Regions from separate parts of the Homo sapiens genome. Here region 1 is linked to region 2. Evidence: promoter capture Hi-C in 16 types of primary human blood cells and fetal thymus (Javierre and others, 2016). All regions are on one chromosome and are shown on one strand. Each heading gives the region's core, a stretch centred on a gene start or on the middle of the fragment in contact. The rest is flanking DNA. Distances are from core to core; before and after follow the strand shown. Region 1 overlaps RB1CC1 (RB1 inducible coiled-coil 1). Region 2 holds the start of NPBWR1 (neuropeptides B and W receptor 1).

Region 1 (6,528 bases), core at 1,589-4,088, 280 kb before region 2:
GTAAAAACTTAGGGCCGGGCGTGGTGGATCACACCTATAATCCAAGCACTTTGGGAGGCCTAGGCGGGTGGATCATGAGGTCAGGAGTTCGAGACCAGCCTGGCCAACATGGTGAAACCACATCTCTACTAAAAATACAAAAATTAGCAGGGCATGGTGGTGGGCTCCTGTAATCCCAGCTACTCAGGAGGCTGAGGCAGGAGAACTGCTGGAACATGGGAGGTGAAGGTTGCAGTGAGCCAGTATCACACCATTGCACTCCAGCCTGGGCGAGAGAGCGAGACTCCGTCTCAAGAAAAAAAAAAAAAAAAAAAAAAGTAAAAAGTCAGAAATTTCCCAACAGCATGCAAAAAGTAACTACTAGAAAAAAATAATTACATGTAAGGCATGTCTTCCTTTACTTTACCTTCATTTTCCATCATTTTTTATTCCCCAGAAATTTCTCAAAGCAGTCACAGGAAAGCCAGTCTATCTTAAATATTTCTTATCTTGGCACCTCTTAAGATTACTGGTACTACCTGGCACAACTCCAGAATAATAAAAACATTTTAAGGTTATAAATTAACTGAAAATACTAATGACATTTACCTGAGGAATGGCTGAACTTCCGAAGGACAAAATGATTGCAGAAACTGTAAATCTTTTAATGAAATATCTGGAAGTTCACAGTCAAACTTTCGAGGCTTTTGAGTCTGTACCAAAAAAATTAATTACTTAAAAAATTTTTTTTCAACCAAAAACAGACAGCAAATTTATATGATTTCTTACTATAATTAAATTTACTATACCAAACAAACTAAAGTGCTTTAAATGATTAAGAAACAAAAAAAGACCATTCAATAAAGATATGGCATATTATTTTCCTGAGCCTTTAGTAAACTGCGACGTGAACTGCTAGTGATCAAGGGATGCACTTGTTCCTCCCCTTCTCTGCTTTTAGCATCATTTTATGGGAATTACAATATTCCTATCCTGTATGTGTATGTATGTACATATACATATGGTAAACACATATGTAAGTGTGTGCGTATATATATAATATTTACCATGTTAAAGCCACTAATATATTAAAATGCACACATGTATTTTTTTTCCATGTAACACTTTCTTATTTGCTTTTGCCTTGACTTTTCCATTACATTTTCCAGAAGACAAAGTTTTGGTCAATTTTAGCTTCTGTAAAAAATATTAACCGGTAAATCCTACCAATTCATTATTTATAAAATTGCCAAGAGTTGCATTAAAAAAAAACTTGTTTTAAATCATTACTCAAGCAGATGTGGAGATGCCAAGATGCTCTTCATAAAAAAGAGTTCTCGGATAAATAAGTATGGGAATCGCTATGTCACCAATTCTTATGTATTAAAAAATGCATACATTTAAAACACTAAGAAATCCTGCAGTATAGAAACATGTTTAACAGCTAAGCATGGCTGGGCGTGGTGGCTCACGCCTGTAACCTGAACAATTTGGGAGGCCAAGGTGGGCAGAACACTTGGGGCCAGGAGTTTGAGACCAGCTGGCCAACACGGTGAAACCCCGTCTCTACTAAAATACAAAAACTTAGCTGGATGTGGTGGCAGGCACCTCTAGTCCCAGCTACTTGGGAGGCTGAGGCACAAGAACAGCTTGAACCCAGGAGGCTGAGGTTGCAGTGAGATGAGATTGTGCCACTGCACTCCAGCCTGGACAACAGAGCAAGACTCTTGTCTCCAAAACAACAACAACACAGCTAAGAGTACATCTGATGGGGGTAAAAGCCCCCATATTGCTTTGATCATGGAAACGTTTCTTCTCATGTAATACAATTAATGACCCCAGATAACAATGGTTTAGAAACATATCAAACTAACGTTTAATTCCAGTGAAGTCTAACTGAGGCTTTATTATTCTGATTTGTCAAAATATAAAGGGGGGTGGTGTGAAAAGAAATATAGAAGGGCAAGGAGGAGGTGGAGGCTGTAAAGGAGGAGGGAGGGAGAAGAGCAGTGGAAGAAAGAAGAGGGAAGGGTGGAAAGAAAAAAAGGAAGAGACAAGAAAACAAAAAAACCAAGTGAATCTATTTCTACCAATCCTAACAGTGCAGTATAAGGTATCTTCCTGTGTTATGAAGATTCTTTATAAAAAATTATGAATACAAATATCAATCTTAAAGCTTTATGCTAACTGGCTTTTAAAGCCAAAAACACTTTTATTTTGATTTTTTTTAAACCACAACAATTTCTGCAAGTTTCTGATAAATGTCTCTACTTCTGGAAAAAAGGTTTTAAAACATATGGAATTTAGTCATGGTTAGAAAATAAATACATACACAAAAGGAAGGGGGCCAGGAGTCCAGTCCCCTAAACAGACGATTTCTTAAAAAAGACTTCCCTGTATAAAGAAATTAACAATATGGTTATTTTAGAGCTTTATTTAAGGCAAAAAATTATCTCTGGTTTTTGAAAAGGTAAATTAAAAGTTGACAGTACTTCAAGTTTAAAATTTAACAATGGATTCAATTCTATACACTTTAAAAGGAATATTTCCTAGATATCAATGGCAATTAACAGCATATACATGAAGTATGCTACAGAAAATCCAAGCTTATAAAAACTTTTATCCTTTACAAAAGTAATTAAAATTATTAATGAACACTTACTAAATAATTTCCCAAAGGATTCCCTTTTTGATTTTTCTGCTTCATATAATCTCTTTCCATCTTTGACTAAAGCACCAGCCCACTAGAAGAGGAAAGCTTATGTTAAACATAAACATACACCAATTCGTTAAAGTTCATATACAGTTAAAATAGAATTCAACTTGCATACCTCCCTGTAGTGTTTTATGAACATTTTTCTTCTTACAACCTCAACAACAGCTAAGCAGTACATCTGAGGAACTGTACTAAGAGCTTCAACAATTTTGACTCTTTCTAACAGCTCTATTACGAGGCGGAGCAAAGCTTGTAACTTCTCTCCATCTTGATCAGCATGAAGCATTACAAAGCAACACCACCTAGAGAATAAAATCCATTATTTTCAACATTCACAAAACTGGTACTAACTTAGTTACTTACTTAGTAAGCTTACTAACTTAGTTAAGCCAAAGAAATCAAGATATATAAGCTCTACAAAAATAGTCTAATTCCAAAGTTCATCAATAAGGTATTTCAATAAAATGGTAGGGAAAAATCACTCCATCATTTGGGAGAAATAAATATAAATACCAATTCTAAACATCTTAAAACAGATATAAATGAATCACTTACTTCAGTCTGACATGTAGGTTATTTGCTAGTTCTTGTTTGGCAGTGGTACACTTCTGCTTAATATCTAACAGTTTTCTATGATTTTGCAACATAATCATCAACTGATTTGCGTGACTCAGGCATAAATCAGGTAATACAGATGCATCCTTTAAGTTTTCAGCTCTCTTCTGATTAGCTAAAAATCCCTTTGAGAAAAAAAATGTTTCAAAGGACATTAATTTTGTTTCATGAAAGGTATGGACATTCAGTTAAGTGGAAAATCTTTATGTTAAACACAACCCGTTTTGTGCCTTCTAACAATATTTTTAAATCCTCTATTTTTCTCGAATGTAGTAGATGCATAAATGGCACAAGACCTAGAATTTTTAAGAATCCTATGCTCATCTTTAATTTTTCAAACTAGAAGAAAATAAAGGCTAGAAAGATAAAGCCCCTTAGCCAAGGACATACTTAATAGTCAATGAGAATTAGAAGCTATGTGTCTAGAATCCTATAACACTATCGGTCAGTCACAGCACAAACAAAACAAGGTCACTGAAAAACAATAAGGGATTTAATCTAGCAAACATTATACAGTAGTATATTAGACACTTTCCCAAATATAAAAATAATAAAATGCCCTTAAAATATTTATCGAAAAGTCACTGCCCTCTCCAGTTATCTCTGGACTATATTTTGTTCCACTGATCTGTGCTCCCATTGCTAGGACAATGACTGAATTGTGTGATTTTACACAGAGTTTATACTTTATTATTTGGTAGAAAAACATTTTTTCTGTTTTTCTTAACTGTCCTTACTCATTTGTTTTTGTAGGTGAACGGTGTATCTGTCAAGTAGGGATTAAGTTACTAATTAATTTAGATAGATCTGCCATAATCTTCCTTCATTTATCTCTCAAGTATATTTAGTTTTCTTTATATGTGGTCCAAAGATAACTTAATAAGGTTATTACTACATACTTTATTGCTACCACAAAGTTTTTTCCTATGCTATATACCAAGTGGCTTATATGTAATAATGTTGTAGGTTTTGTACATCCATCTGATTGCTGTATTGATACTGTAAATAAATCATTATCCTTCTAGGAACTTAACTTTATGACCAGCTAAAGGACAAGTGTGTCTTCCAATTTTCTGGTAGTTCTCTGTTTCATGTTTTCCTAAATATCATGACATTTAGATTTGAATGATATATACTGAAGTCAAACTGGTTCAATATCTGAAAGGAAGACAATTTTCATAGTAACTGTATGCCTTTTTTTTCCCTTTCAATATACTCTTTGGTTAACTGCAACTATAATTTTTCTATAATGTAATCTATTAAAAAACAATTTGCTACTTTTAACTCCTTTCGCAAAGTCTGGTTTTCAATTACTTTTTATTGAATCCATGAAAAATATAGAATCAATCCCAAATTTAAATTCTAGACCATTAGTAAAGGATTTCCTGACACCAAAAGCATGTAAGTACTGTATTGCTAAAAGAAGGAAAAAATAAAGTTTTTCAATAAATTGAATTTCATATTTGCTCAACCATACTCAATATAATTCAGACTAAATAGAAAAAATCCTCATAAATCATCTAGTACTAATTCATTACTAATATTTTTACACGCAAATAAGGTTTGACAGCTACATGAGCTACATGATAGCACTGTAGTACTCACAATCGTGTTCCAGATGCATTCAGCCAAATTTGGTTCAGGAAGAAAACTCCCTGATATTTCCTAATTTTGCTGATAACCCTCAAGGATACGAATGGCTAGAGAATGAATATTCAGGGCTCCAGTGTTACACAGCTTCATAGGTTTGGTGAGTGAGGTTTTTTTTTTTGCCAAAACCATGTAGAAGGGTCTACAACAATCCTCATAAATGTTGTGGTTTTAAGAAATTACCCCTTCAAAGGCATTTGAAATGGTCTCTATCTTATGAGATGTTCAGGCAATAAATAATAAATCCCTTTCCACAATTTCTTTTCCCTTTTAATTGGGAGTGGTTTTAAGTTTTAATTGCTATGTAGCTAGAATGTATTATACTACGTTGTAAATGTGTTTAGCAAGATGTAAAATCAACTCCTAAAATTGGATAATCTGAATTTATCTACTTTTCACCAAACACATTCTAAAGGAAGTACTGACAAACTATCTGCAACAGGGAAATACCATTAGCAGCAACAAAAGTAACTGATGAGACATCTGTAAATAAAAATTCCAGACCAGCCAAAGACTAGATAGAATTGTGACATTTCTCAAATTCAAAAAAACACAAATCCAAATTCTCATTTTATTAAGTATTGATGTGTTCCTACTATGTATGTATCAGGAATGTGTGGTAAGACCTTGTAGATAAAGCAATGGAAGATAGAGTAGTGTCCTGCCTCCTTGGAGCTTATATTCTGGGAAGAGACTGTATTAAACAGCATGTAATTAATAATTACAACTGTGGTACAGGATAAGTACAGCATACTAAGAGAAAATGAACCTGATGATGTGACCAAGACTTCAAGATCAGGAAAGTTTGGCTGAGGAAGTGATGCTTCTGCTAAAACCTTGACTCTGTACATCCCTTGGCGGCAGCCAAATACATGACAATATAGGTGTGAAAAGTTGTCTCACTCACCATATACCTCCTAGCTTCAACTGGGTATCCCTTTTCTCTAATGAGCTCACTGAAAATAATCTTATTAAACTGAATCCTATCACATTCAGATTCATTCAGGCACACTCAATTGAAAACTGTCTACCTTGGGGTCTATATTTCTGTCTTAAATTTTGCTCCCAATATACAACCAGACAATGTAGATGACTTCTTATGAATACTTAGGAGTACCAAAAAATATCCATTGGAGAACTTAAATAATTAAATATTTAATTGTCTCGAAATGTTTAAAAGGACTATACCACTCAGGTATCGAAGAAAGAAAAGATATTTTCTAAAAGTAACAATATTACCTATAGTATTCTTTTGGTATATTCCATGAGCTACCATAGTTTAAAACAATAGCAAAATACTACAAATAAATTAGGGGGAATGAAGATGTTGAAAGAGGATGCTCTATGAGCACAAGACAACAAAAACTAATTTTGTAATATCCATAGGAACAGCATAAGAAATTTTCACTGAATTTTACTTCAGTTTGGATTCAGGGAGGTTAAATGGTCAGATTTAGAAAGCAAACAAGAAAAGCTCAAATCGCAAATAATGCATTCTTCCATTTTGAGAAAACAGTATTATCACCCCAACCATACTCCCAGAAAAAGACTTTTCCTTGTATGACAAA
Region 2 (7,078 bases), core at 126-2,625:
GTTATTAGATGACTGTGGCAATGACCAGTGTGGTGTCTTCAAGTTGCCTTGATTTTACTGACTTTTTGCCCTTATTTCTCTCTGGCTCCAAAGTGCAAGAGAAGTGATGCTGGCAATTCAGATATGCCAAAGAGAAGCTGCAAATGCCTCCTTTAAGTTAAAAGGTAAAAATTCTGGACTTAATAAGGAAAGAAAAAAAATCATATGCAGAGGTTGCCAAGATCTACTAAAAACAAATCTATCCACGAAAATGTGAAGAAGAAAAAAGAAATGCATGCTAGTTTTGCTGTTGCATCATTTTTGGATGGAAGAACAGAAACATGTTCCCATTGACCGCAATGGGTACTATCCATGGTTTCAGGCATCCACTGGGGCTCTTGGAACCTATCCCCCATAGGTATGGGGGGGCTACTGTATTTCTGGCCCCACAGTCTTCTACTGCCGACTTTAGGTCTCTCTGGATCTCAGGCCCCCTTCTCTAAGATGCATCCTAGAGGACCAAAAATACACTTTATTTGGGCTTCGCCTGCTTTTGTGGAAGGGTAGTTTACTAGAGGATATAATCTCGTGTTTTAATTTGCTCTCTCTCCTAAAGGAAATGTGGAGAAAAAAAAAAAGCAGAAATTGGAAATAACCAATATTTAGTTTATTTCATTCGATTCTTAGGGGAACTGGTGAGGAGCCTAAGATGATTTTCCCTTCCTAGAGAAAGAATCCAAAGTCCAGGGAAATAGCGACAGGGGAGTTCAAGACTGCCCCTGCTAGTCCTTCCTTGGCTACTCTCCGCTGCGATCGCAGGATAGCTCTCATTAGCAGGAGAATCGGGCAAGTGTGTGGATAAGTAGAGAGTGTGTTGAACAACTTGTAACGTTTTATGAAATACGCATTGTCATGGTTCCCTAAAAGGCTTTGCGGAAGCCGTTTGTCTTTACTAATCAAGTCTTTACTTACACAAAAGTAGAAGTAGAAGTAGTTTTAGAAAACATACTAACAATCTTCTATCCCCTTGAAGACCAGAGTAGCAGAAAACAGGTGATTTGCATTATAAAATTGCACTCACTTTTTCCTCCTTTCAGATTTCACATTACATTAGCCTATTTGTGTTACGGTGTATAAAAAATGGAACAGGCGCCTCCACTACATTGTTCTCCTTTAAAAATAGATCACTTACACCCTAACTTTGTTTTCCTTAAATTCGATTCTTAACAGGAGAGCTTTCTATTATTTCAGATGGAGTGAGGTTGCACGACTGGGATGGAAGAAAGGAATCCCTTAAATTTGGGGGAATTTCTGTTCTCTGTTCTAAGACCATTTTACTTGGGGTGTGGGGGTGGGCGCGGCGGTCAGGGCAGTGGAACGCAGTCGCGGCTGCGCCATCCCTGCACTTCCAGGCGCGCGGGAGGGACCGGCGGGGACGCGAGCTGCGGACTCTGGCGAACTCGGGGGAGGCAGACAGGGGGAGGCGGACACCCAGCCGGCAGGCGTCTCAGCCTCCCCGCAGCCGGCGGGCTTTTCTCCTGACAGCTCCAGGAAAGGCAGACCCCTTCCCCAGCCAGCCAGGTAAGGTAAAGACTGCTGTTGAGCTTGCTGTTACTGAGGGCGCACAGACCCTGGGGAGACCGAAGCTTGCCACTGCGGGATTCTGTGGGGTAACCTGGGTCTACGGAAGTTTCCTGAAAGAGGGGAGAAGGGTTTGCATTTTTCCTATGGAGGATTCTTCTCTCTCTAGCATTTCGTTTGATGTATTCAACTGGTAGAAGTGAGATTTCAACAGGTAGCAGAGAGCGCTCACGTGGAGGAGGTTTGGGGCGCCGCGGCGCCACCCCCACCCCTCCTCGGGACCGCGCCTATTTCTAAAGTTACACGTCGACGAACTAACCTATGCTTTAAATTCCTCTTTCCAGCCCCGTGAGTCCGCGGCGACATTGGGCCGTGGGGTGGCTGGGAACGGTCCCCTCCTCCGGAAAAACCAGAGAACGGCTTGGAGAGCTGAAACGAGCGTCCGCGAGCAGGTCCGTGCAGAACCGGGCTTCAGGACCGCTGAGCTCCGTAGGGCGTCCTTGGGGGACGCCAGGTCGCCGGCTCCTCTGCCCTCGTTGAGATGGACAACGCCTCGTTCTCGGAGCCCTGGCCCGCCAACGCATCGGGCCCGGACCCGGCGCTGAGCTGCTCCAACGCGTCGACTCTGGCGCCGCTGCCGGCGCCGCTGGCGGTGGCTGTACCAGTTGTCTACGCGGTGATCTGCGCCGTGGGTCTGGCGGGCAACTCCGCCGTGCTGTACGTGTTGCTGCGGGCGCCCCGCATGAAGACCGTCACCAACCTGTTCATCCTCAACCTGGCCATCGCCGACGAGCTCTTCACGCTGGTGCTGCCCATCAACATCGCCGACTTCCTGCTGCGGCAGTGGCCCTTCGGGGAGCTCATGTGCAAGCTCATCGTGGCTATCGACCAGTACAACACCTTCTCCAGCCTCTACTTCCTCACCGTCATGAGCGCCGACCGCTACCTGGTGGTGTTGGCCACTGCGGAGTCGCGCCGGGTGGCCGGCCGCACCTACAGCGCCGCGCGCGCGGTGAGCCTGGCCGTGTGGGGGATCGTCACACTCGTCGTGCTGCCCTTCGCAGTCTTCGCCCGGCTAGACGACGAGCAGGGCCGGCGCCAGTGCGTGCTAGTCTTTCCGCAGCCCGAGGCCTTCTGGTGGCGCGCGAGCCGCCTCTACACGCTCGTGCTGGGCTTCGCCATCCCCGTGTCCACCATCTGTGTCCTCTATACCACCCTGCTGTGCCGGCTGCATGCCATGCGGCTGGACAGCCACGCCAAGGCCCTGGAGCGCGCCAAGAAGCGGGTGACCTTCCTGGTGGTGGCAATCCTGGCGGTGTGCCTCCTCTGCTGGACGCCCTACCACCTGAGCACCGTGGTGGCGCTCACCACCGACCTCCCGCAGACGCCGCTGGTCATCGCTATCTCCTACTTCATCACCAGCCTGAGCTACGCCAACAGCTGCCTCAACCCCTTCCTCTACGCCTTCCTGGACGCCAGCTTCCGCAGGAACCTCCGCCAGCTGATAACTTGCCGCGCGGCAGCCTGACTCCCCCAGCGTCCGGCTCCGCAACTGCCCGCCACTCCTGGCCAGCGAGGGAGGAGCCGGCGCCAGAGTGCGGGACCAGACAGGCCGCCTAGGCCTCCTGGGGAAACCGACTCGCGCCCCATACCCGACCTAGCAGATCGGAAGCGCTGCGACTGTGCCCGCAGGTTGACCTTGCCAAGCCCTCCAGGTGATGCGCGGCCATGCCGGGTGAGGAGAACTGAGGCTGAGATCGCCACACTGAGGGCTCCCTAAAGCCGAGGTGGAGGAAGAGGAGGGTAGAGGAGGAGGGCGGTATTGCTGGGAACCGCCCCCTCCCTGCCCTGCTCCCTGCTGCCCCACCCGAGCCCTGGCAGTCTGGAACCTGGCTGGAGTCGGAACTCTCCGCGCCTTCGAAGGGAGGCCCGAGGACGCTGCCGGCGCCCCCAGGCGTCGGCTCCGCGCGGCCCCTGCTGTAGCTGGCGCACAGCCCCGGCGGGTCCCCTTGTCCTCCGCGCGCTCTGGGAAGACGGTCAGGCGCGCGCGTTTGGCGCCCACCCCTGTGAGACCCGCTTGGCCTGGCGCCGCGGGCGGGGACCGCTGCCGAGGCCGCCAGCGCCTCTTCAACTGGGGAAAACACAACAACTCGGGATGCCCCATCGGAGTGTGTATACACCTGTGTGTGTGTGTGTGTGGTGTGCGCGCGTTTGCGGAGGCATGAAATGCGGGGAAAGAGGCTGGCGCTTGGCAGTGACTGCCTAGAATATGATACGAATAGTGATCCTTCTTTCTGTCTGCCCCTACTCCTTTTCTTTGCCTTTTCCCTTTCCTATCCGTGATCTCCCCTGAAAATGTCAGACTCCCGGAGCAAGGAACCCGGAGTAGCCCGGGCGCGCGGTTCCGGCGCCCCCTGGAGGAGCCAGCGGCCGAGTGCTTAGCGTCGGAGGATCGCGGGGCTTTGTGGTGGAGCACTCCGGCTGAGCGCGCTTCACAGCGCTGTGGCACACTGGTCATCGTTGCTTATAGAGGATGCCAAGCCCCACCCCCATTCCCCCAATTGGCCTCGTCTCTTGTCTTACTTAGATCAGTTTGTTGTAACTGTTCATGTGTGTACTGTTTTTCAGGACTGAAAACTTTATAAATAATGTACATGTCCTAATCTCACGAGTTGCCATGAAGATCAAATAAGATAAAAAGAAATGCGATCTATTCTCTTGTGTTCCCTTTCTCCTCTGCTTCCTTGGCTCCGCCTTAGGGAGAGCAGGAAGCAGGGATGACCGACGGCTTCAGGTTTTCTCTGCTGTACTTTTCACAGGGAGCTGTGGATTACCTGGGCTTTATTCCTTACTTGTAGACGGCATCCGGTAGGTAGTCCCGGTAAACCGGGTAAATACTGGTCCTGGAGTCACCAGGGAGATTGGCCAGCATCCTACCTGTGTTTTTGTCTCTGCATATGGAAGACAAAGTGGATTAAGAGAGAGGACTGGCATTGGGTTTGCCCAATCCTCTGCAGTTTAGCCTTAGACATGAGGGCCGAACCCTAAGCAAAGTCTGGTAATTGATTATGGTGTTTTAAAAGGTATTAATCTTTAGGATGAAGTCCAAACAGGATGAAAATTTCTACAAATGTTTGTTTCCTATGTCATGTGTGAGAAAAAAAAATGTGAGTGTTGCAGCACATTTTGTTTGCTTAGTTTGGCATCTTCAATCAATTTCTCAATTATTTAGGTTGAAAATAGCTTTTAATAAATATTTGGAAGGAAAAAACTCCCCCTTGGAATGGGGGGAAGCAAACCCCCTCTCTAATTTTGGTGAATAAGAATTGCTTTCTTAGCTCTCAGAGTTTTTAGGAACATTGAAATAATTCATAGCCATCAGTTTAGAAAATATACATTAAAAAACCTTCTGTCTTGGGTGGCAAATAATAGTAAATTGTTTAAAAGAAAGTTTTCATCTACAATGAGTTTCGAGTGGTGGACCTCATGGCATTTGAACAGGCCTCTCTCTGCTGGCCGGCTTCGGAGGCTTCTTGGAATTCATTTTAATATCTTTCGAATTTCTAGGAAACATTCTATTGATTTTCCTTAAACTCTCAAAATTATCTCATGAATCCTCTGTAACTTTTCAAAATTAAAGTTTTAAACTTAGAGTAACTTCTAGATTACCTAAGGTGATGGACAAAGAGTAAGGTGAACATTTGGCTACAAACACAGCTGGAGTGATTGTCTGGATTCAGTATCTCATCTGTCTTAATAAGCTCAGTAACTGGACTCAGATGGGGGACAGCTGAGTGATCCATCTGTCCACTGTTTCATCCCTACAGTAGATTGACCTCGAGCCTTCTTGGAATCTATGGAGATGACTGCTGGAAAAATACACGGGCTGACATTGCTGTTCATCCCCAGCAAGGCATGGACTGGCTTCTGAGTATGCCTGTGGGATTAATCAGGTCTCAGCAGTTGAGTTCCTCCTGGGCTTTCTGATCACTGGATAAACTGTTGTATCATTATTTCTAGGTCGTTGCCCTTCATACGAGCATGTAGACTGTATATCTCAGGCTTCCTTTTTATGTCTTGGGTAATCGGTTGAATAAATACACACATAAGCCAGGCAAAAGTAGAATTTATTCACATCATTGTATTGCAAAGGTTTTAACACTGTGTTGAATTCTTGCAGTTTCTGTGTAAACTCTATGGTTTGGTTTTACCACTTTGAATAGTTAAAAATGTCTATTTGCTTTTACTTAATTTAGTGCAGTTATGTAATGTGTATGCTTATGTTTTCTCTTGACAAACGCAGAAACTCTGTAGTCCATTGTAGAGGAGCTCAGTTTAAAATAAAAGCTGAAACATTCTGTGTGATAAGTGAACATTCTATTTTCTGAGAACAAGTTATCCACAATTAAGTCACCTTAGCATTTGTGCAGTGTTACTATTTAAAAATACTGCCTTCATTGGAAAAGTGATCCAATGAATACTCAATGAATAAATAGAAGTATTTGACAGGACAAAATTAAGAATGAACACCCCCACCCCTTAATTTGGTTGATTGTGAAAATGATGCAAAGCTGCTGATAAACACAGAGATTCCAGAACTTATGCTGGGCAGAGAAAGGATGCTAAACTTCTATCATACCATCAAAAGCCTCATTTCTTAAATATTTGAGCAGCTATGTGGAGGGGGAGAAGGGAAGAGAAATTGCTTCAATTATTAGTATACACATTGCTATCAGCAATATGCATAGACATAGCACAAATATGCAAGGTGGAGAATCTCACCTGAAAAACTCACGAACTTATTATAAACCCTTCTTTCCTCAGCAACATGCTGGGAAAACAACAGCAAGACAAAAAAACAGTAAACTCTCCTTGGATATTAATCATCTATGCTTATGCACATTAAGAAAGAGATCAGAGAATTCTGCCCATAATGGTCTTTTATTAGCACAGCTTTGGGTCTGGCACTTCGGCCCCCATTTTACATACAAAGAAAGTGAGATACAAGGAAGTGGATCAATTTAGCCAGGCCCACAAAGATCAGTGAAGACCAATCAGAGCCACCCAGTTCCCATTCTATTCTAGGAATTGTGTCATCTTGTTTCAGCAGAGATGGAATTCGTTGCAATGTGTAATTTGGAAATATTAGACTAGAAAACAATGATGTCTTTTAAATATTTAGTAGATTAAGCAAGCTGTATCTACCATTAGCTCATACGAGATAAAGGGAGGGTAAGATTTAATATTATAAAACTTCAATCTTAATTCAGAGACTTACAAAGTGTATGGGATTGTTGAAAGTTATATGAGAATAAAAATTCCTAACAGAGCTGTCACACAAAGGCACCATGTGCATAGCAGCCTCCACGCTTTATGTACGTGGAACTGTGCCCCAGAGGGACTATTCATATAGGAGACAATGCTAATGATGGCTGTACTCTGTAGAATGGAGCTTTGCAATGGATGATGCTGTCCTTGAATTTAGGGCAAGGGAAATGTATTTGTTTATACCATATCT

What was found. Contacts are between HindIII fragments. The CHiCAGO score rates a contact against its expected background, and 5 or more counts as called.
Region 1: a fragment that was not itself captured here is called in contact with the fragment with the promoter of NPBWR1 in region 2 in 1 of 17 cell types (total CD8 T cells); the score reaches 5.1 in total CD8 T cells.

Annotation. Positions count from the first base shown.
Region 1 is chr8:52,658,285-52,664,812 of GRCh38, forward strand. It overlaps RB1CC1 (RB1 inducible coiled-coil 1), which reads right to left. Exons shown (of 24, transcript NM_014781.5): 9 at 3,251-3,435; 10 at 2,811-2,997; 11 at 2,642-2,723; 12 at 2,312-2,373; 13 at 589-692. Among named protein-coding and RNA genes, the nearest start is that of RB1CC1, 53 kb to the right of the region's middle. The HindIII fragment of the contact is 207 bases long and covers 2,736-2,942 here.
Region 2 is chr8:52,937,807-52,944,884 of GRCh38, forward strand. It overlaps NPBWR1 (neuropeptides B and W receptor 1), which reads left to right and starts at 1,376. Exons shown (of 2, transcript NM_005285.5): 1 at 1,376-1,560; 2 at 1,905-5,928. The coding sequence starts at 2,102. The coding sequence ends at 3,088. RefSeq lists enhancers at 1,551-2,182, 2,183-2,814. The HindIII fragment of the contact is 12,259 bases long and covers 1-1,623 here.